7 separate regions of the Homo sapiens genome follow, and all the other regions are linked to region 5. Evidence: promoter capture Hi-C in 16 types of primary human blood cells and fetal thymus (Javierre and others, 2016). All regions are on one chromosome and are shown on one strand. The core of a region is centred on a gene start or on the middle of the fragment in contact, and the rest is flanking DNA. Distances in the headings are between cores, read along the strand shown.

What was found. Contacts are between HindIII fragments. The CHiCAGO score rates a contact against its expected background, and 5 or more counts as called.
Region 1: a contact is called between a fragment that was not itself captured here and the fragment with the promoter of C1orf53 in region 5, in 4 of 17 cell types (M1 macrophages, M0 macrophages, activated CD4 T cells and 1 more). The highest score is 7.1, in M1 macrophages.
Region 2: a contact is called between a fragment that was not itself captured here and the fragment with the promoter of C1orf53 in region 5, in 4 of 17 cell types (M1 macrophages, monocytes, total B cells and 1 more). The highest score is 6.6, in M1 macrophages.
Region 3: a contact is called between a fragment that was not itself captured here and the fragment with the promoter of C1orf53 in region 5, in 1 of 17 cell types (erythroblasts). The highest score is 5.0, in erythroblasts.
Region 4: a contact is called between a fragment that was not itself captured here and the fragment with the promoter of C1orf53 in region 5, in 6 of 17 cell types (M2 macrophages, M1 macrophages, total B cells and 3 more). The highest score is 7.8, in M2 macrophages.
Region 6: a fragment that was not itself captured here is called in contact with the fragment with the promoter of C1orf53 in region 5 in 2 of 17 cell types (M1 macrophages and fetal thymus); the score reaches 5.4 in M1 macrophages.
Region 7: a fragment that was not itself captured here is called in contact with the fragment with the promoter of C1orf53 in region 5 in 1 of 17 cell types (M2 macrophages); the score reaches 6.5 in M2 macrophages.

Annotation. Positions count from the first base shown.
Region 1 is chr1:197,558,963-197,561,662 of GRCh38, forward strand. All of the region lies in intron 15 of DENND1B (DENN domain containing 1B), which reads right to left. Among named protein-coding and RNA genes, the nearest start is that of DENND1B, 220 kb to the right of the region's middle. The HindIII fragment of the contact is 4,556 bases long and covers 1-2,700 here.
Region 2 is chr1:197,509,922-197,512,621 of GRCh38, forward strand. DENND1B (DENN domain containing 1B) reads right to left here. Exons shown (of 23, transcript NM_001195215.2): 22 at 1,807-2,023; 23 at 1-1,051. The coding sequence ends at 539. Among named protein-coding and RNA genes, the nearest start is that of CRB1, 240 kb to the left of the region's middle. The HindIII fragment of the contact is 1,416 bases long and covers 580-1,995 here.
Region 3 is chr1:197,400,927-197,403,626 of GRCh38, forward strand. All of the region lies in intron 5 of CRB1 (crumbs cell polarity complex component 1), which reads left to right. Among named protein-coding and RNA genes, the nearest start is that of CRB1, 130 kb to the left of the region's middle. The HindIII fragment of the contact is 2,913 bases long and covers 1-2,700 here.
Region 4 is chr1:197,587,501-197,590,200 of GRCh38, forward strand. All of the region lies in intron 14 of DENND1B (DENN domain containing 1B), which reads right to left. Among named protein-coding and RNA genes, the nearest start is that of DENND1B, 190 kb to the right of the region's middle. The HindIII fragment of the contact is 1,771 bases long and covers 549-2,319 here.
Region 5 is chr1:197,901,323-197,904,022 of GRCh38, forward strand. C1orf53 (chromosome 1 open reading frame 53) reads left to right here and starts at 1,308. Exons shown (of 3, transcript NM_001024594.3): 1 at 1,308-1,591. The coding sequence starts at 1,328. RefSeq lists silencers at 1,193-1,342, 1,513-1,762. The HindIII fragment of the contact is 7,446 bases long and covers 1-2,700 here.
Region 6 is chr1:197,529,675-197,532,374 of GRCh38, forward strand. The region is part of intron 20 of DENND1B (DENN domain containing 1B); the gene reads right to left. Among named protein-coding and RNA genes, the nearest start is that of DENND1B, 240 kb to the right of the region's middle. The HindIII fragment of the contact is 3,130 bases long and covers 1-2,700 here.
Region 7 is chr1:197,604,972-197,607,671 of GRCh38, forward strand. DENND1B (DENN domain containing 1B) reads right to left here. Exons shown (of 23, transcript NM_001195215.2): 13 at 2,102-2,203. Among named protein-coding and RNA genes, the nearest start is that of DENND1B, 170 kb to the right of the region's middle. The HindIII fragment of the contact is 4,151 bases long and covers 1-2,700 here.

The DNA.
Region 1 (2,700 bases), core at 89-2,588, 340 kb before region 5:
GGAGGCTTCTTTCCAAAAAATATAAAGAATATGTTTTGATCAAAGTCACAGATTACACTTCAATATAGCTGCCAGTAAACTGGTAGGAATGTATATGTCCTCTAAGAGATAAGTCATATGCCTTTTACAATTCTTTAATTATTTACCAGTCAGTGTATTTCCAGCATTGAATCTAAAAATCCTAAAACAAGTTATGCTATTATCAGTGTTCTAATTCCCTTAGTGGTCTAGACACATGTTATATAAATATTTAATTGCAATCACTCCATCAAAACTCTATGACAACTGAATTTCAGGATTCTAGTATCATTTTAAAAGAAATATTTGATCTTTTTTAAATCCTTATAAAAAAGATTCTGGTAGAGAGATGAGGCAGTGGTGCAATTCTCTGCCGAGCTGAGGAAGTAGCAAGATTCAGTGTTGTTTTTTGTGTTAACATGGCAGTCCTGTTACTGAAGCAAAGCTGCAGAAGTGCTGAAGCAACACAATAAACAAATCTACACACCCAAATTCCTTCTTCAGCCTGGAGGAAACATTACCATGGCTCAGAAATTTATCTCACATTAGAAACCCTTCTTAGGTACAAAGATAAGAGGTAACTAATAGATTCAAGTCTTGAGAGCTAGAGAAAAATAGTTTTAAAAATCAATCAGCAATTTAAGGAAAAATAAATACAGTAAAAAATTGCTTTCAAAAATAAACTAATTTCTTATGAATCTTTAAAATTTGCCTTTTTATATAATGCTCCGGGCTAAAAATTTAATAAGTCTAATTTAAATATTTCTTCTTAGAAATGTTCAGTAAACCTTGACAGGTTAGTGAAAACTACACTGAAGTGTTACAATAAATTACATCAACAGATATTTATAGACACCTGCTAAATGCAAGCCATTCAGTTAGTAGCTATATATAAACACAAACTGCCTACAACAAGTGGGAATAAGCAAGGTAGGTCAGCTCAAACTAAGAAAATTAAGTATGTGGGAGAATAGAAATAAATTGTTATTTTTATGCCATTAGGTAATGAGATGACTATCAGGCTCCAGTATACTAAATTAGACTACCATGGTATCATGAACAGGAAAACACTATGAAGAGTATTAAGAGCCCACTCAGTGCAATGTACTATTAAAACTAATAACCTAAAATAACAGTAATAAGACAACAATACTACTTTCAAGGATATGTCAATTGACATTAAATAATGTGCTAAAGAATTTAGTCTGCTGAACCTTATGATCACCAGACCAAAAGAATCAACTAATTATATTATTCAGGGAATATTTCGCTGAATATATATGCTATATTCCAGGCACTTTCCTAGACACCTGAAATACAGGAATAAATGAAGCAGGCAAAAATCCAAGCCCTTGTGATGCTTAAACATGTAGCGGAGGTAGGGGAAGAGAGTTTTAGCATGAAATAAGAAACAACAAATGATGTAGTATGTGAGAAAGTGATGAGTGTTAGAGAATAAGATAGACTTCCTAAGGGAAGTTAGGAAATCTAGGGCAAGGAACTTTCTATTTTAAATAGTGTGGTCAGGGTAGGTCTCATGAAGACAGCATTTAAGCCAAGTCTTCAAAGCCATGAGGAGGTTTAATGGGAAAAGAGGATTCCAGGCAAAGGGAATAGCCAGAGTAAATACCCACACTGGAGTAGGAACAGGCAGGTACTCAGCAGGCCTGTGGCAGGCTCCATGTATCAGGAGAAAATCCCATCAGCCATAATGACTATTTGCACTCAAAATTTATAAACCTCAACCTCCAATAGGATTTGAATACCAAGCAATTCTATTTTACTTTGCAGTCACTCCATTCACTCTCCCCATCCATTTCACAATGTCCTATCTTCTTTCTCCTTAAATGTTTAACGACCTCTCCCATTCTCCTTCAGTTGACGATCTTTCTTCCTAATTTCACCAAAAAAGAGAAAATCGAAGTAATTAAAAGAGAAATTCTACAAGCTCTAAGTCACACATTTACCTACCTCACCCATCTGCGCTCACAGACTGCCTTTTCTCCTGTTATGAATAAACTGCCTGTGCTCTTGCAAAGACTAACTTCTCTAACAATTTTTCCTTCTCTCTTCTGAATATAGTTTTATTTCTTAACTAGATCTTCCCAGCAGCATACAAACATGTTATTTCTTCTCTTGACCCCACTTACTTCTCTAGTTATGTGCTATTCCATTCTTCACAGCAAAATTCAAAAGAGCTGTCAGTACTTTGTGTCTACGTCCTCTCCTCTCATGCTTCAATCACAATTTCTGTCTCACCACGTCAGCAAAATTGCTCTTGCTAAGGTCATCATATATCCATGGTTACTAAATCCAGTAATCAATGCTAGGTCCTTGTTTTAATGAGCCTGTCATGAGCATTTGACAGTGTTGATCCCTCCCTCTTTGGTATTCTTGTTGGCTGCTAATATAAAGTACTCTTCTGGTTTCTGTCCTACCTAATTGTTCATCCACTCTTTCATAACCTCCGTTGCTAGTGCCCTCTTATACTACTTTCTTATCATTTCTATTTATACTTTTTCCTTTGGTAATCTCATCTAATCTACATGCTGATGGCTTTAAATTCTACCTACATGCTGATGACTCCAAAATGTATATACCTCCAGTCCAGTATTCTCCCCTCCTCCTTTATCCATCCACTTACCTAATCAATATCCTGCTTGCATCTCCAATAGATATCTT
Region 2 (2,700 bases), core at 38-2,537, 390 kb before region 5:
TGATGAATAGAAAAAGGCATTATTGCTCTGCAGAACACTAATAACTTATCCTTCAAACTTTATACATACTTTCATACATTATTTAAGTATGCTTAAAAAACAGCTTTAAGATTAAGGCAATTAGTGGGTTAACAGTTTCATCAGCTTCAGGCTAGTTTTGATAAGTTTTGATATCTTGATCAGTTCATGCTCAACCAGATTAGTATAGTAGCTACTGGTTATGTGCATGGGTTACATATGCATTCTTAGCTTAAATAAAATAAACGGCATTAAGCACCAAACACTGGGAAATCTCATGGTCAATACATACTTTAAACATACATACACACTAGTACCTGATTTAAAAGCACAGTAGAATTCGCTTTATATTTAAAAATCAATGCATTTCATATATCCTCGAAATGAACAAGTGAGAAAAATGTTGCAAATGCAAAAAAAAATTTAAATAGTATGAGTTGCCATTCCTACAAATAATTCTGTTTATTATACAGATTGCATTGAATCTCAAAATGTCTCCATAGAAGCTTGGATGCAAGATTTAAGTTTGGTTTCCATTTGTGTTTTTGTCTGAAATGTTCAAGCTTTGTTGGAAGTCAGATGTCATATGACATAATGACACTACTTCATGGAGCAGTCCAATATCTTCTGAAGTCTCTTTGGCTTCTTTCCCTTCTTTCTCCCAAGGAACAAAAGTCGATGAATGCCGCCCAAGACCGGGTATAAGCAGATCATCTGAAATCTGGCTTAGTGTTTCCCTCTTTTCTGTTTTTCCTTTATCAGTCTGGGAAACTTCAGGGGAAGTGAGTTGGAAATCCAGTCCTGAAGTAGGGTCACTCACATTGTCAGCACCGAGGTGCTTGTTACTGTTTTCCTCTTTCAGGATAAACAGAGAATCTGTCAAACCACTAGAGGAAACCCGCTTCCTAGGAGATGGAGGGAGGTGTTTGCCATGGAGGGCACTATCGTCTTGCCCAAGATTCCACTCTGCTTGGTCACCAGAACCACCACAGAGGAAAGCCAGGTTATTCTCACTAGGAGCATTAGATTTATTCTGAAAAAAAGAAGAAACAACAAACTCAGAAAACTTTTAATAAGCATTAATTTAGTTCTTTTTTCTCTTTTGAAATAAATGTTAATAGCGTTAAGTTCCTCCCAGAGAAAATACAGCATTGAGAGTCAATTTTAAACATTTCCAAATGGCTCTATTAACAGGGATGAAATGGAATGGACTTTGGTTTCCACTGCCTTGCAGCTGTCACCTAACAAATTCAAACTAGATTATATAATTAATGCCAAGTTCTGAAGTCACTTACTATCAGAACAGGATTGTCATTACTCATACTTCTATCTCTGCTGTTTTTAAGCATTCAGTTAAATTTGCATAAAATAATGTTAAAAAATAAAATCATGTTCATTTTTGGGTAAGAAAAATGATTTGAATGAATACATTTACTGAAGTTTTTTTGAAAACTCAGGAAATATGGGGAAAAAGTGAAAACATTTCACATTTTAAAAATTCCCCAGAGACAAGTATAAAATTAGGTTGCAAGAAAACATTATTGCTTGACAAAATAATTTCAATTAATGACAATAACCACTAGAACTAGATAAATGAAAGGGAAAATACTAGAATTTTAATAATAGAAATAATTTCTAGTGATTAAATTTTATCATATTTTTGAAGTTTTGACCCTTACCTACTTAGAGGTTAAATGCTTCTACCAACAAAGAGTATAAGATCCAGTAATCACAGCCAAGGCAAGAATATTTTCTTCTAATTTTATAAGTAAAAAAAAATCTACTAACCGTAGGTTTGTAATCAATGTCATCCATTGATCTAAAGAAATCCAAGCTCTTTGCAGCTGCCAGCTTCCCCTGATCTGAGCTGTGTGTGCTCAATGTATCAAGAATCTCTCCTAGTAAGTCCATTTCACCTGAGTAAGGAGTCTTCACTCTTGTTTCAACAGAGTCATCACTCTCATAGAGATAAGCAGAAGCTTCTTCACCATCTTCAGAAGATAACCTGAAGAAAAATAAAACACGCAGTAGTAGGTAAATAACCATATTTGCTGCATGTAAGTAATCTCTCACCAGTTACATTACATTAATGAGAGAGTTAACAACAAAATCAATAATTAGTTCATCACCAAATTCTTTACCGTGATGTGTATACTAATTCCAATATGGAAATATTTTGTGCATGCATTAAGAACAAATAAAAAGTTTACGGTACCTTATGAAACTGAAAGTAGAAGCAGGGCTTTTCACAGTTTAATTCTGTGGAATTTGGGACCTTTACTTTAGGAATATTAGACTGAACTACTTGGAAAGTCTGCTATAGCCTAAATTCACTTTCAATATTTAATATGGTTTTCCTTTATTTAATCACTTATTTTAGAGGAGAATGCATATTCCTTTACATAGACAGAGATATAGTTAATGAAGAAAAAAGAATGTTCATTTTGTCATTGTCATACATCAATTGTAAGAAGCTAAACATATATTATTTCCCTTATATTAAAATTAATTTTTAACACTTTTTATTAAATTTTCATCTTCTGATATCACCATAGACTTAAGTCTACTGTACCCTCAATTCCATTTCTTTCTATTGACTATTATCACCATTCCTGATATTTAACCTTCCTCTCTTCAGAATGAGTAAGAGCCTAATTTAGATGGGCTTCTATTGCCCCTTTA
Region 3 (2,700 bases), core at 51-2,550, 500 kb before region 5:
CTTTCCTTCCCTTCTTTTCCTCTCTGTTTTTCTCTATTCTTCCCTTCCCCAACACACACATACATATACACAGAGAAATTGAAATTATATTATATATAGTTTTGTATCCGAATAAATTGCTACCTCACAATATCTTTAAACTTCCTTTTTGTAATACAATTTTTGAGTCCTTGCCTTTTACTGCTGTGTTTAAGCATATATATAGCTATTATTATACCATTTGTAGTGCCTTGCTCCTACCTTCTCATTTTCTGTTATTGTAGAGTGTGGGTTTTTTTAAATTGGTGTTTTAAAAATAATTTTTGTATTTTTTGTATATTATTTTGTTGATGTTTATCTCCACCAGTGTTCTGGAATTTCCATATTTTGTTTTCATTAGGCTACTTTTAAACTTAAAAACATTTTTTAAATGTTTTAATCTATTCTCCTCTAATTACCAAGGTCAAAGTGAAATCATATTGTTTTGATTGCCCACTATGTAAGACAAAGAATTTAGCATGTTTTAAATAAAATTTCATCTTTTCCATGATAGCATGGTCTTTGCTAACATAATCATGAGCTTGGGAACAAATTGTTGTCATCCAATTATTATTTTAACATTTTGGAAATTTATTTTTGAAGAATAACCTTGAACAATTTGTCGTATTTTGTGTCTTCTGTTTTGCAAAATGATTTAGCCATACTTTCAAATTGAACTGGTTTTAATGTTTATGACCAGTTCTTTAATAATCTGCCCACTAATATTTGATAATGTACTATTTTATGCTATTTAACTAATATTCTTCCCAATGATATTATAATTTTTCCCTTAGTCACATGAAGTTTATCTTTAAGTATTTTTAGGCTATGCACTTATCATAAGTAGTATCTCTTTCTGTTATCTACAAATTTGAATGACAGTTTCTCTGTGCACAGAATTTCAGGGTCTCAGTCTTTTATATTCAAAATGTTTTAACTTTAATTCTATTATTTTGATATTCTTTTGGCATTTATTTGTATCTTTTAAATTTGTTTATTTTTATGTCTTTTAAAATATTTTAATATAAATTAATATTTTTATGTTTTCCTTGTATCCACAGTTAATTTTTATTATTGTTTTTCTTCTTTTTGTTTTGTTTTCTTTTTAACTTTTATTTTGGGATTAGGAGTACATGTGCAGGTTTGTTATACAGTTAAACTCGTGTCACAGGAGTTTGTCGCACAGATTATTTTGTCATGCAGGTGCTAAGCCTAGTACTCAATAGTTATTTAGTTATTTTTTTCTGCTCCTCTCCCTCAACTTACCCTCCATCCCCAAGGAGTCCTCAGTGTCTGTTGTTCCCTTCTTTGCGTTCATGAGTTCTCATCATTTAGCTCTCACTTATATGTGAGAACATGCAGTATTTGGTTTTCTGTTCCTGCATTAGTTTCCTAAGGACAATGGCCTCCTGCTCCATCCATGTTCTCACAAAAGACATTACCTTGTTCTTTTTTATGGCTGCATAGTATTCCATGGTGTATATGTACCACATTTTCTTTATCCAATCACAGTTAATTATTTCATCATTATTTAGATGTATGTCGTTTAAAATTAATGTTGACTAAAAGATAGTCATCCATTTTAATATGCTGTCTCCTGTCTTATTCAACAAGAAAAATAGGTCAGCTGTCTTTTATTGTTAATCCACTTCAAAGTATTTTGATTTCTCTCTCAGTTACATTTGAAATTTTAAGGTCTAATTTCTGTTCTCTAGTCCCTTTATCTCTGGGATAGTTTCTCAGTTTTGTTCTCTTATCACAGATGCAGTTTTAAAATTTTTATTGAAGTACAATAAACAAAAAATTACATAAACCAAGTATTTAGCTTAATGAGTTCTCATCAACTAAACATATCTGTATAACTAATTCCTAGATCATACTGCTTTGATTATCTGCAGTACCAGTTTTCCACTTTTCTGCCCCCAATGTAGATTTTAATAGCACTATTGCAATGCTAGTTTTAGTTTATTCTTGTTATTTTACACTGCATCCTTTTCTTCTCTGTCTGTAGTCCTTAATCCCATCCTGTTGTCTTTTCAGTTATTGTTTTCATTTTTGTGTCTTTTTACTTTATTTCCACAGAAATCAAGTTTTCACACATATTGTCATGAAAATAATGTAGTATTCTAAAATGTTCTTGATGTTTTGTTATAAGCCAGATTTTGGGTTTTCTTCCTTTAGCTCTTTAGCGTTATGTTCCCTTTCTTTTGTGGAGCACTAGGAATACATAATGTATGTATGTATATGTATAGATACTCAAACACACAACATGTGTCTGTCCAATCATCATGTATTCCCTCTTGCTTTACCTCTTCATAAAAGAACAGTGGTTTCTTTAATAACCTTCTTTTCCTAGCAGCCAGGTACATTAGAGGAGGCTGACTTCATTCTCAGTTCCAAAGAATAATCCTCTTTCCTCCCACTTCTTGCCATTGATCCATTTAGAGATGAATATGAGTAAAGGTTTGCTGATGGCTTCTCGGGAAGTTCTCATTTGTTCTTTAGGTAGAGACATCAGGGGGACGTGAATGAGGAAGCATGTAGATAGAGTGCTACTTGCAACCATCCTATAACTTCAAAAATGTCTTTGAGGTAAAGCTGAAACTTTGACCAGTGAAGTGAAGAAGTGGTAGATATCTGAGTTCTTGATCTTTTTGAGTCTTCAAGATAACCCTGCTGATG
Region 4 (2,700 bases), core at 184-2,683, 310 kb before region 5:
AGTTTATATTACAGAGAAGAGAAACAGATTTTCTTAGGGACTTATTTTCTGCCATACATTCAAGGTTATTTTCATATATCTTATCTGTGAACTCTGGAGGTCGGGGACTAAATTCTTGATCATCTTTGCATTCCCTATGGCAGTGGTCCCCAAACTTCTTGGCACCAGACGCGGGTTTTGTGGAAGACAATTTTTCCACGGACCAGAGGAGTGGGGAATAGTTGTGGGATAATTCAAGCGCGTTACGTTTATTGTGTACTTTATTTATATTATTATTACATTGTAATACATAACGAAATAATTCTACAACTCACTATAATGTAGAATCAATCAGTGGGAGCCCTGAGCTTGTTTTCTTGCAACTAGATGGTCTTATCTGGGGGTAATGGGAGACAGTGACAGATCATCAGGCATTAGATTCTCATAAGGAGCATGCAACCTAGATCCCTCACATATGCAGTTCATAATAGGGGTTTTGCTCCTATGAGACAGGAGGTGGAGCTCAAGCAGTAATGTGAGCCATGGGGAGCGGCTGTAAATACAGATGAAGCTTCATTCCCTTGCCTGCCACTCACCTCCTGCCATCTGGCCTGGTTCCTAACGGGAGCTGGGGATCCCTGCCCTGCAGCACCCAACCCAGTACCCTGCATTTTGAGTGTTAAATAAATATCTGCTAGTTACTATATGAATTATTTATATAGAATAATTAAGCCACAAGTAAGTTATGGATGAAATACAGCTGTTTTTCTACCCTAGTATGCTGCTCAACTTCAGAGTGATAATCATTATTGACATAATGTTTGTGTTTGTTTGTTTTAAGAATAAGTATCTTTCAAGTTCTATATATTGTACCGGGAGTAGAAAACTTTGTAAGAACAAGAAAATACTTAAAACATAGATTAGATCTTATACTATCAGGACGTGTATGACTTAGCAAGAGTTCACTGTGAAAGAAAATTAGGGCATCAGAAAGAATGATAACGTAAAAAATGTGAAATATAATCCAAAACATCAACATTATACTTATTCAGTTCCTTAATGCACCTGGACTCAATGTAATGTCACCATTACAAAAGGAGTATAAACAAACTAAGCAAAAATGTCTGCATATTGATGGCTATTTTAAATTTAAAATATCTGAAAGACTCTGCTGTCAGATATCTCATGGGAATGTTCAAATATTTGCAGATTCTCACAGGAAATAATAATAAATGATTTTCAGGTTATACAGCATTTTTCTTCTACATGTCCCAATGCTATTATTATGTAAGATACAGCAACTCTACTTTCAGAGTATATTAACCATGGAAACAGTAATTTTCTTCCATTGTTGGCACTTTAGCTAGAAGTCAATGAAAAAGAACCTCACAGTCAAACTATAAAGTTTAATCATCAGCATCAAAATATTCTATTTGTACATATTATTTTATTACTTTATCCTCAAGTTGCTGGATCTGTCTTGAAAAAAGAAAAACTACAGCTACCTACTAATGTTCTATTTACCTATGATTCAGCAACTTAAGACAGAAAAAGGAACTAATTTTTCTAAATTAGACATTGCTGTTTCTAGCTTTTTGTGTGAATTTAAATACTTAGAAAAAATTAATAGATTGTGCATTAACTTTGTTCATACTATTAAAAATTACATTTTTCTTCCCCACAACTTAAGGCAATAAGAAAAACACTCTCCATTCTCATAAAACATATCAGTGATATATAAATGGAACACTTACTACCCAAGTCCCTAGTTCTAACTATTCCAAAGTACTTGAGGAGAAACTGTATATTATTACTGAAGCAATTAAGCAAAATTCTCTCCCTACTAATTAGAAATGAGCAGAAAGAAAGTGCCATAAAACAACTTTTATCCATTAAAAAGCCAGATGCACACCAAATATTTCTTTGGTGGTAACCATCTCTCAAGTCAACAGGTCTATCTGTGCTCAAGCAAGAGAAATGACATGAAAGGATGTGTAAAATGTTTTAGTAACCATAAAACTGTGAGTAGTACTTTTCAACTTGGATTTTTAAAACTCTAATAAGTTGACAATTACAAGTTTCTTAAATGTAAATGTTAAGACAAAGATTTAGTGAATGGCCTTTTAAATTATGGATGCCAACCCTGTGTTTAAATTGCTTGAGCTTAATCACTAAATACAACAACATTACTTACTGATAATGTTTTAAAGAAAATAATCAAAAAATGTTTGAAAGATAACTCCTCCACCTTGTCAAACGGAGGACCGGATTACTAACCAATCTTTATTCTTAAAGTAACTTATTTTTTATCCATTAGCAAGGTTCAAGGCAGCCCAGGAAAGCTTGAGTGATGGAAACACATGACAGCACCTTAAGCATTAAAGGGAATAAACTTGAGTGTTACTTCTGTGCTCTCAGGCAGGATAATCAAGTATGTCTTTGAATATACTAAACAATATTTTAACTCAAACAAACATTTCTTCAGCATTAGCTGTTATTTAAAAATTTGACTTATTTTTTTATAGCTTCTGACACAAGTGATACAAAGAGGTATAACTAAAGACCATTTCTTAGTTATTTAATACAATCATTTAAAAGTATTGTCATGTTTAAGGCAGTGTTTTCCTTTCTGGAAAGATGCTTTGTTTGTGGTTATGCTAAAGGGATTTTCCTTACTAAATCTACTGATTTTAATATTTTATTTTTAATAATGACGACGTA
Region 5 (2,700 bases), core at 58-2,557:
CCTTTGAATCGATGTCATGGCCTATTAGTGGATCCTGATCCTTAATTTTAAAGACAATGCAGTAAATCAATCTCAGGTTTTTGTTGGTGCGGGGACCTGACTTATGGTGAATGTGAATAACATCACAGTTGTTCATTTTTGGTGATCTCATGTTTGGTCCCACTCTTCCACAGCTTTCTCTAGGGTCCCTCCTTCGCTTTCCAGATTTTAAACTCTCCTCAGATTACTTAACAGTCTCCAGATCCTAATTTTTTATTCCAACAAAAAGAAAATCAATTTGCAAAATATAATACCAATTTATTAATTCACTGAGATTTTTAATGAACCAATAGGGTTGTTTCAATCACCTCCTACTAAGATTTAAGAAAATGAAAATATGACTACAGGGTTGCATGGTAAACACAGAAACCAAAAAACACGTAGTGATGGTCTATAGTGGCTTAGTCGCCTTTCTCCTGTACAACTGAATAATCTACTTTTGTCCTCAAAGATCAATTCCTGCCCTCCCAGTATTGAAGAGCACTAACAAAATTGGTACTCTTCAGCCCTCCTTTTCTTGAAACCCAGACGGGGGGTAGGAAGATGGGGTGGTGTTAATTTAATCCTAACACCTGAAATTACTTCCCGGGCTTGCCGTAATTTTCTCAAATACAATTATGTGACGGTATCAAGATCACTTTCATCCATCAGAAAGGAGATAATAGTTTTAGGTTGGATTTTGTAAATATTCAGCAACATGAACACAACACCTTTTCTTATTCAGTGTGCGATTTTACTTTTGGCCCTTATTCTAGGGTGGGCCAAAGAACCAAGCAAAGAAGGCTCCGCTTCCACCTTTATTCCTATCACATACTACCTGGAAACACTCAGCCTTTTCTGGATAGGCCCAAGGTGGTTATTCACAAACCTCGGGTCTTTTGATCACTTTCTGGGATCTTAACAGTTGTGGAGATTATACTGAATGATCCCAAGTCCAGTCTGACATAACAAAAAATGTCCACCTTTCAGCTGGGTGGGCGCGGGGGAAGAAGGAAGAGCTTAGAATTTAAGTCCAAAGATGTGGAAACACCAGGCTCTTCCCCGTCCAGGCAGCTCATCAGAGCCTCGTTAGCTGCCTTAAAAGCCCATTTTATTTCCGCAGCGGGCCCGCTGGTGAAGGCAGAAGGCTCAGTCCGTCCGCCTCCACCTGCTGCCACGGCAGCGCGAACCGACCCCACGCAGCGATGGCCACGAGCTGCCCAAGACCGGCTCGCCGCGCCCAGGCCCGCGTTGGTCGCCCCTCCGGGCCCCAGCGCCGGGTGCTCCGCCTCCCAAGGCCGGCGGCGGCATGGCGGCCAGGCAGATCTGGGCACGGACGGGTGCCGCGCTCTGCAGGCAACCTTCCGCCGCCCCGCCGCCAGCACCTCTCTGGGTAAGAGCTGGGTTCCGACAGCAGCTCAGCTTAACCCTCTGCCCTGCTAACGAGGGAAACTGCGGCGGCTCCGCGCCCAGCACGCCCGGTAGGCCGGAGAGAGCGGCGAGGCCTTCGGTGAGCGAAGAGTTAACCGCGGCGGAGCGACAGATCGCGGAGCTGCACGCTGCCGCCTGCGCGGTGAGACTCCCTCCTGCCCGCCCCGCCCCGCCGCGGCCGCCCCGGGCTCGGCGCGCCTGCGCATCCCGGGCCTCTCCGGACCCGGAGGCCGCCCGGCAGAGGCAAAGGTTGCTGGATACCGGTGCGGTCCTGCCTCGGGCGACATTCGCGCACGCACACGAACTTCCAGCCCCGACATTTTCGCGGGAAACCTGTGTCTGTCTTGAGTATGAGTGTGATTTGTTTTCCGATCAGCGTCCGAGCTAAACTCCGGTCGCAGTGTGGGACCCACTACCACTCTTTTGTGGTGTATGTGTGTGTGTGTTGCGGAAGGGGGTGTTAAGGAATTGATGGAGAAGGTGGAGGGACTGAGAAGTCACAACAAAAATGTGTTGTGTGTTTTTCTGCATTGTCAGTTGAACACTTAGCAATCCAGTGATTCTTAGAGTGAGAAAAAAAGACATTGACACATTTATTTTAATTTTTCCATTGCCTTCTTGTCCTTTCTCTTAACTCTTAACGGAGCAGAGGGAACTACAATCTGGCATTTGTAGACACTCAGCTGTTTTCTCCTGTTTTGCGGATTTGACAATTGTCTGTTAGTACCAGTATCTAAACTTCTCTCCCTTTACGCCTTCTAACACAGTCTGCGTGAGTTTAAAGGCAGCATGGTTACCTTTACAAAAGAAACAGTGAGAAAAAAAGAGAAACTGACTATAATAAAGATAGAAAAGCAGTATGAAATGAACCCATTTAATAAGCTATGTGTGTGTGCCTCCAGTACTTGATGGGACTAATATTATATGGTATGACTTGAGCCAAAGGGGTAGAGAAGAAAATCCCGGAGGTTGCCTAAAATTGACTTATTTAAATAATGACAGTTAGTAGGCCCTGAGAATCCACTGTCGGTCTGACCCATTCAAGTGCTGAAACTGAATAAAGACTCATTAGGAAGTGACTGGCAGCTTTTGATTGTTCTTGTTTATGCTCTCCTTTTAAAAATAATGTATATAATTTGTTCTCATACTTCGCAATATAGATATGGTGGATATTAAAGAAAAGTGTCATTCTCCTTAGAGCAAACACCAGTATCATGTGAAGAAATTTTCAATCAGTCTAGGGAAGGAAAG
Region 6 (2,700 bases), core at 78-2,577, 370 kb before region 5:
ATTTAAAGAAATTTCTTATTCTTAGAAAAGAAAATGTTAGTAAATGTTTACAAGTAAGTATTTTTAAACATAATCTCAGATTATAGATTTATGTTATCTTATATTTTTCACTAAGTCTCCAGTATTCTATTCTAAAATAAAACTGATGAAAGAACATAAGTACATAGGATTAAGACTGTTCTGCACCATGACCAGTGGCTATATTCTCAGTGGACTCACTGGCCCTGTTTTCAATAAAACCAGAGAAGGATCCTTTCCCTGGAGTCCTGTTAGGCTGGGGCTGCTGTTGGAACTGTCATCTTTACACAAAAGGGAAAAGGGTTGGGTTTTACAAATGTGGAGCCTAATTGGGAGATCTTCATGGCTGTACCCTTGACATTTATTTAAGCCTCATCAACAAAACGAGCAACAGCCATACTAATTAGCAGACCAGCACACAAATTACTATTTGTTGGATGTGGACTATAGATTCACAATCTATTCCAAAGATAAGCTAAATAATGGAAAACAGGTTTAAAACACAGGCTTAGAACTTTGTTCTTTTCTACAGCACACAGATTGTAAAACTTCATAATGTTTTACTTTAAAATACATTCTTGGAATTTAAATGATCATAATCCCATTTTCATCTTTTGAAAAACAGATGAAAATAAAGTCTCTCACTGACAAGTCTAGCTGGAAACTGGAAATGTAAAGTTCTTTAGACAACTGAGATCCACTTCTGAAATGAATAATCAAATGGACTAGGAATAGGATGAGTGAAGACTATACTCAATTTTACTCACAATAAAATGACATACTCAAGGTCTTCTAAACTTATAAATAAGATATTTCTTGGTACAATAAGTTTTATATTTCTATTCAAGTCATAAACTGGGATCTATGATCATCCCTACTTAGAATGAAGATGGATAATTTTAGGAGTCCTAACTACTTTAGTGATTAGAGATTATTAGTGATCCTGGACTATAACTACCAAGAGAGAAATCAGATGGTGCCACTGCTACAGAGACCTGGAGTTCAAGATATATGATATGGTAACCATAAACAAACAGCTACCGATTATCAAGTACTTATTATGTGGCAGATATTTTATATACATTATCTATAATGCCTATAGCATCCTGGGAAAATAACTTGTATTATTATTTTACAAATGTAAACATTAAGGCTTAGGGATATTTTGTTTTGCTCAATGTTAAATCCTAGTACCTTTTTCAAAGTTAAGTTCTGTCTGGCTCTAAACTCCATATCCTTATTTCTAACTATCCCTCTTCTACAATCACTCCATCCAACATAAAGGCATGACAATAGTGGTTAGGTACCTAAGTTCTAGAATCAGTCTGCCTGCTTTTTAATTCCTATTCTGCTATTTATTACTTGTAGAACTCTGGGCACATTTATTAGTCTCCATTTGTTTCTAAATCTGAAAAACGCGGATAATAATTCTTGCCCTGACTGGATTGTTGGAAGTTTTAAATGAATCACGTAAATACAAACATACACAGACAGCCTCACTGTTATCAAAAAACTGTCCATCTTTTCCAGGTCTTCTGAGGCTGCTCTAGGGCATTTTTCTACTATTTCAACTGTATAAAAATTGAAGTTTGAAAAATAGTAGTAGGAACATGAAAATTATCTAGATTACAAAAATCACAAAGGTCCCTGCAGAAATTTGCCTTTAGGCAATTAAATTCACCACATAACAAATCTTTTTTTTTTTTTTTTTTCTTTTTTTTTTTTTTTCATTTATTTTTATTTTATTTTATTTTATTTTTTTTATTATACTCTAAGTTTTAGGGTACATGTGCACATTGTGCAGGTTAGTTACATATGTATACATGTGCCATGCTGGTGCGCTGCACCCACTAATGTGTCATCTAGCATTAGGTATATCTCCCAATACTATCCCTTCCCCCTCCCCCAACCCCACCACAGTCCCCAGAGTGTGATATTCCCCTTCCTGTGTCCATGTGATCTCATTGTTCAATTCCCACCTATGAGTGAGAATATGCGGTGTTTGGTTTTTTGTTCTTGCGATAGTTTACTGAGACTGATGGTTTCCAATTTCATCCATGTCCCTACAAAGGATATGAACTCATCATTTTTTATGGCTGCGTAGTATTCCATGGTGTATATGTGCCACATTTTCTTAATCCAGTCTATCATTGTTGGACATTTGGGTTGGTTCCAAGTCTTTGCTATTGTGAATAGTGCCGCAATAAACATACGTGTGCATGTGTCTTTATAGCAGCATGATTTATACTCATTTGGGTATATACCCAGTAATGGGATGGCTGGGTCAAATGGTATTTCTAGTTCTAGATCCCTGAGGAATCGCCACACTGACTTCCACAATGGTTGAACTAGTTTACAGTCCCACCAACAGTGTAAAAGTGTTCCTATTTCTCCGCATCCTCTCCAGCACCTGTTGTTTCCTGACTTTTTAATGATTGCCATTCTAACTGGTGTGAGATGATATCTCATAGTGGTTTTGATTTGCATTTCTCTGATGGCCAGTGATGATGAGCATTTCTTCATGTGTTTTTTGGCTGCATAAATGTCTTCTGAATAGACCAATAACAGGCTCTGAAATTGTGGCAATAATCAATAGTTTACCAACCAAAAAGAGTCCAGGACCAGATGGATTCACAGCCGAATTCTACCAGAGGTACAAGGAAGAACTGGTACCATTCCTTC
Region 7 (2,700 bases), core at 171-2,670, 300 kb before region 5:
TTAAACCATCTCACACTTTCAGTAAATGGTCCTAGCTCCATCTCAGAACTATTTTTATTTGTCTATTCTTTAAATTTCTTTATAAGTCTGTGTCCCTGAATTTCAAGCATATATTTAGTTAATCAATCTACACCACCTTTCAGTATAATTTTTATCTATATTTTTAAATATTTCAGTTATGTTTATATTGTCATTTATGAGTAAATAACAAGATAGTCTCTTCTGTCATTTTATATATTCAGGCCTTTACATGTGTGAATATTATTTACTTCTCCATATATTTAAATACTTACATGTGTGAAATATTATTTAACTTCTCCATATATTTAAATAAATGTTCTAATCATCAAACTAATTCTACTAGGAAAGTAGTACTTTTCAATTTAAAAAAGAATCACCCATCAAAAAAATAAAATTTCAAAGATTATTTTTTCAAGAATCATCTATCATTGATTGAAGCTGCCTATAAAAATTTTAATATCACGTACAGAAAAGCTGAATTTCTTTCTCTTTTTTTTCTTCTTTCTCTTTTTAACAATCTTTCTCCCTAAGGCATTAACGGTAGGAAGTACATGCATATAAGGAAAGCATTCTTAAAAGTTGGGATTCTATTTTCATAATTATTTCTCTATCCATTGAATAATACTTTGATTAGTTTTTAAATGAGTAACTCTAATAATTTCTTTGTGATTTTGTTTTTGCAAAAATTTTATAATGAGGTAATCTAGTTATAATGAGCTAAAAAGATGTAATTTTTCACTGGCCTAGGATTAGATTTGTACATTCATAGCATAAGTTTTACTACAGTAAGATAAGGTAGTTGAATTTTAATATGTCTCAAGGTCAGCAAGTATTTTACGGTATTATGGGCATAAATAATCTGATTTTGACTTTAAAATCATATTTTTCCTATCATTAGACAGAAGGACAATCAAGGCTGGTATTAGTGTATTTTTGAGTTTAGGATTTTTAAATTCACTTTCTCAAACTCCTTAATAATGGATTTCAAAGTAGTTCAATATTACAGAAAAATATGCTCTGAAGGCATTTTTATTCCCAAATTTTAATATCCATATAAAGAATAAATGCTTTGTTTTTTTAAAAAGGAAGTTATTTTAACTTAGAACTATGTTATAAAGATATTTTTAAGTAGCCATTAAAATATATACAGAAACAGTACTAGTTTGCATTTTTGTCCTGTACTAAGGAATATGAAGGCCAAAAATAATGCACTTTTGGAGACTATTTAACGTGACATACAGAATATGTCCCATTATAAGCTGCAGACACACGCACACACACACACAACCCTCCGCAAGATCAAAGACCAGAAGAGAACTGGCACTTAATTTATCAGCCTTTACAGACAAAAGACAGTTTTCGTCATTTCAAAAGGATCAGATGTCTTTTATGACAAACTGGGTTTGCAGTTTAATTTACAAATAGAATTCTAAGTAAGCAGTCTTTGCTCTGCCAAAGCAAATGACAAACAGTGTAGGTTTTCATTCTTGCAGCCCTCAGCAGGATAGAAAAGATTAAAATAAAACTGAAATAATTTAGAGAAAACAAATAAATGTTTCAGAAAGTTGAGGGAGATCAAAGCCAGAATTTTCTGACCCCAACTGTACAAGCATTTCTTATTATATTGACCAGTAACATCAGATCATTAATTAAAAGGAAAAGCGCTGGCAGGTGGCAGGGAAGCAAAAGCCGATAATTGGCCCCCTTCTTCTTCTTGCCTTCAAAAACTCTCTCATTCTTTTGCAAGACATGCCACTAGGCAGACAGAAATGCCTACTTTGTAATATAATGATTAAGATGAGATGAAGAGACTTAGGTTTAAAGAAACTCTGCCTAATGAATGCATCTAGCTTTTTAATTATGATCTTACTTTTACAATAAGGAATATGATGTTCCATTCAAAATCTCAACTGCTAAAAGGTAAAAATATTAAATATAGAATCAACATTGATTTCTCTCACACCCCATGCAAATACCCAACCCTTTTATTTCAGATATTAAAAGTGGGAAAAATAACTTAGTAATTCAGAGGTCCAGGAGAAAACATATATGTTCACCACTGAATAGCCTTCATACTTACCACATCACTTGGTAGGTTGTTCAAGTCACTAAATGGTGATTCTAATGTGTTTGTATCAACATTTAACATAACAACATCTTCCAATGATTTGTTTTTCACTCTCTATAAAAAAAACACAATTATGAATACAAATCAGTATATTTACTTTACAAAGTTATGATGAGTTTGGAAACAGAAAACATTATCTTAATGCATTAGGCTTGGGAAAAGAAAAAAGGAAAATCCTATATTATGAAAGGATAGAAACAACTTTGCCTCCTGAGAAAGTCTGACTACAACTCATACGAAAAGATTTAGTAAAAATGCTTAAAATTGAATATTTCCTCATCTTATATTAAACATAACTACAACAAAAATTCTTATAAAATAGGCACAGTTATATCAAACTGTAAACAAATTATATTCTTTAAAATTTACCCATTTAAGTTCAGTCCCATGAAACAAGAATTCATGGCCAGCTCTATACCTATGTTTAGCATAAAGCATATTGCAAGGATAACATAAACCAATAACTATGACTACAGCATTAAACTATAATTTAAATTTTTTGTCTATATTCTATACAAAAAGGTATATGTTGGTGATGAGGACTGAAAGCT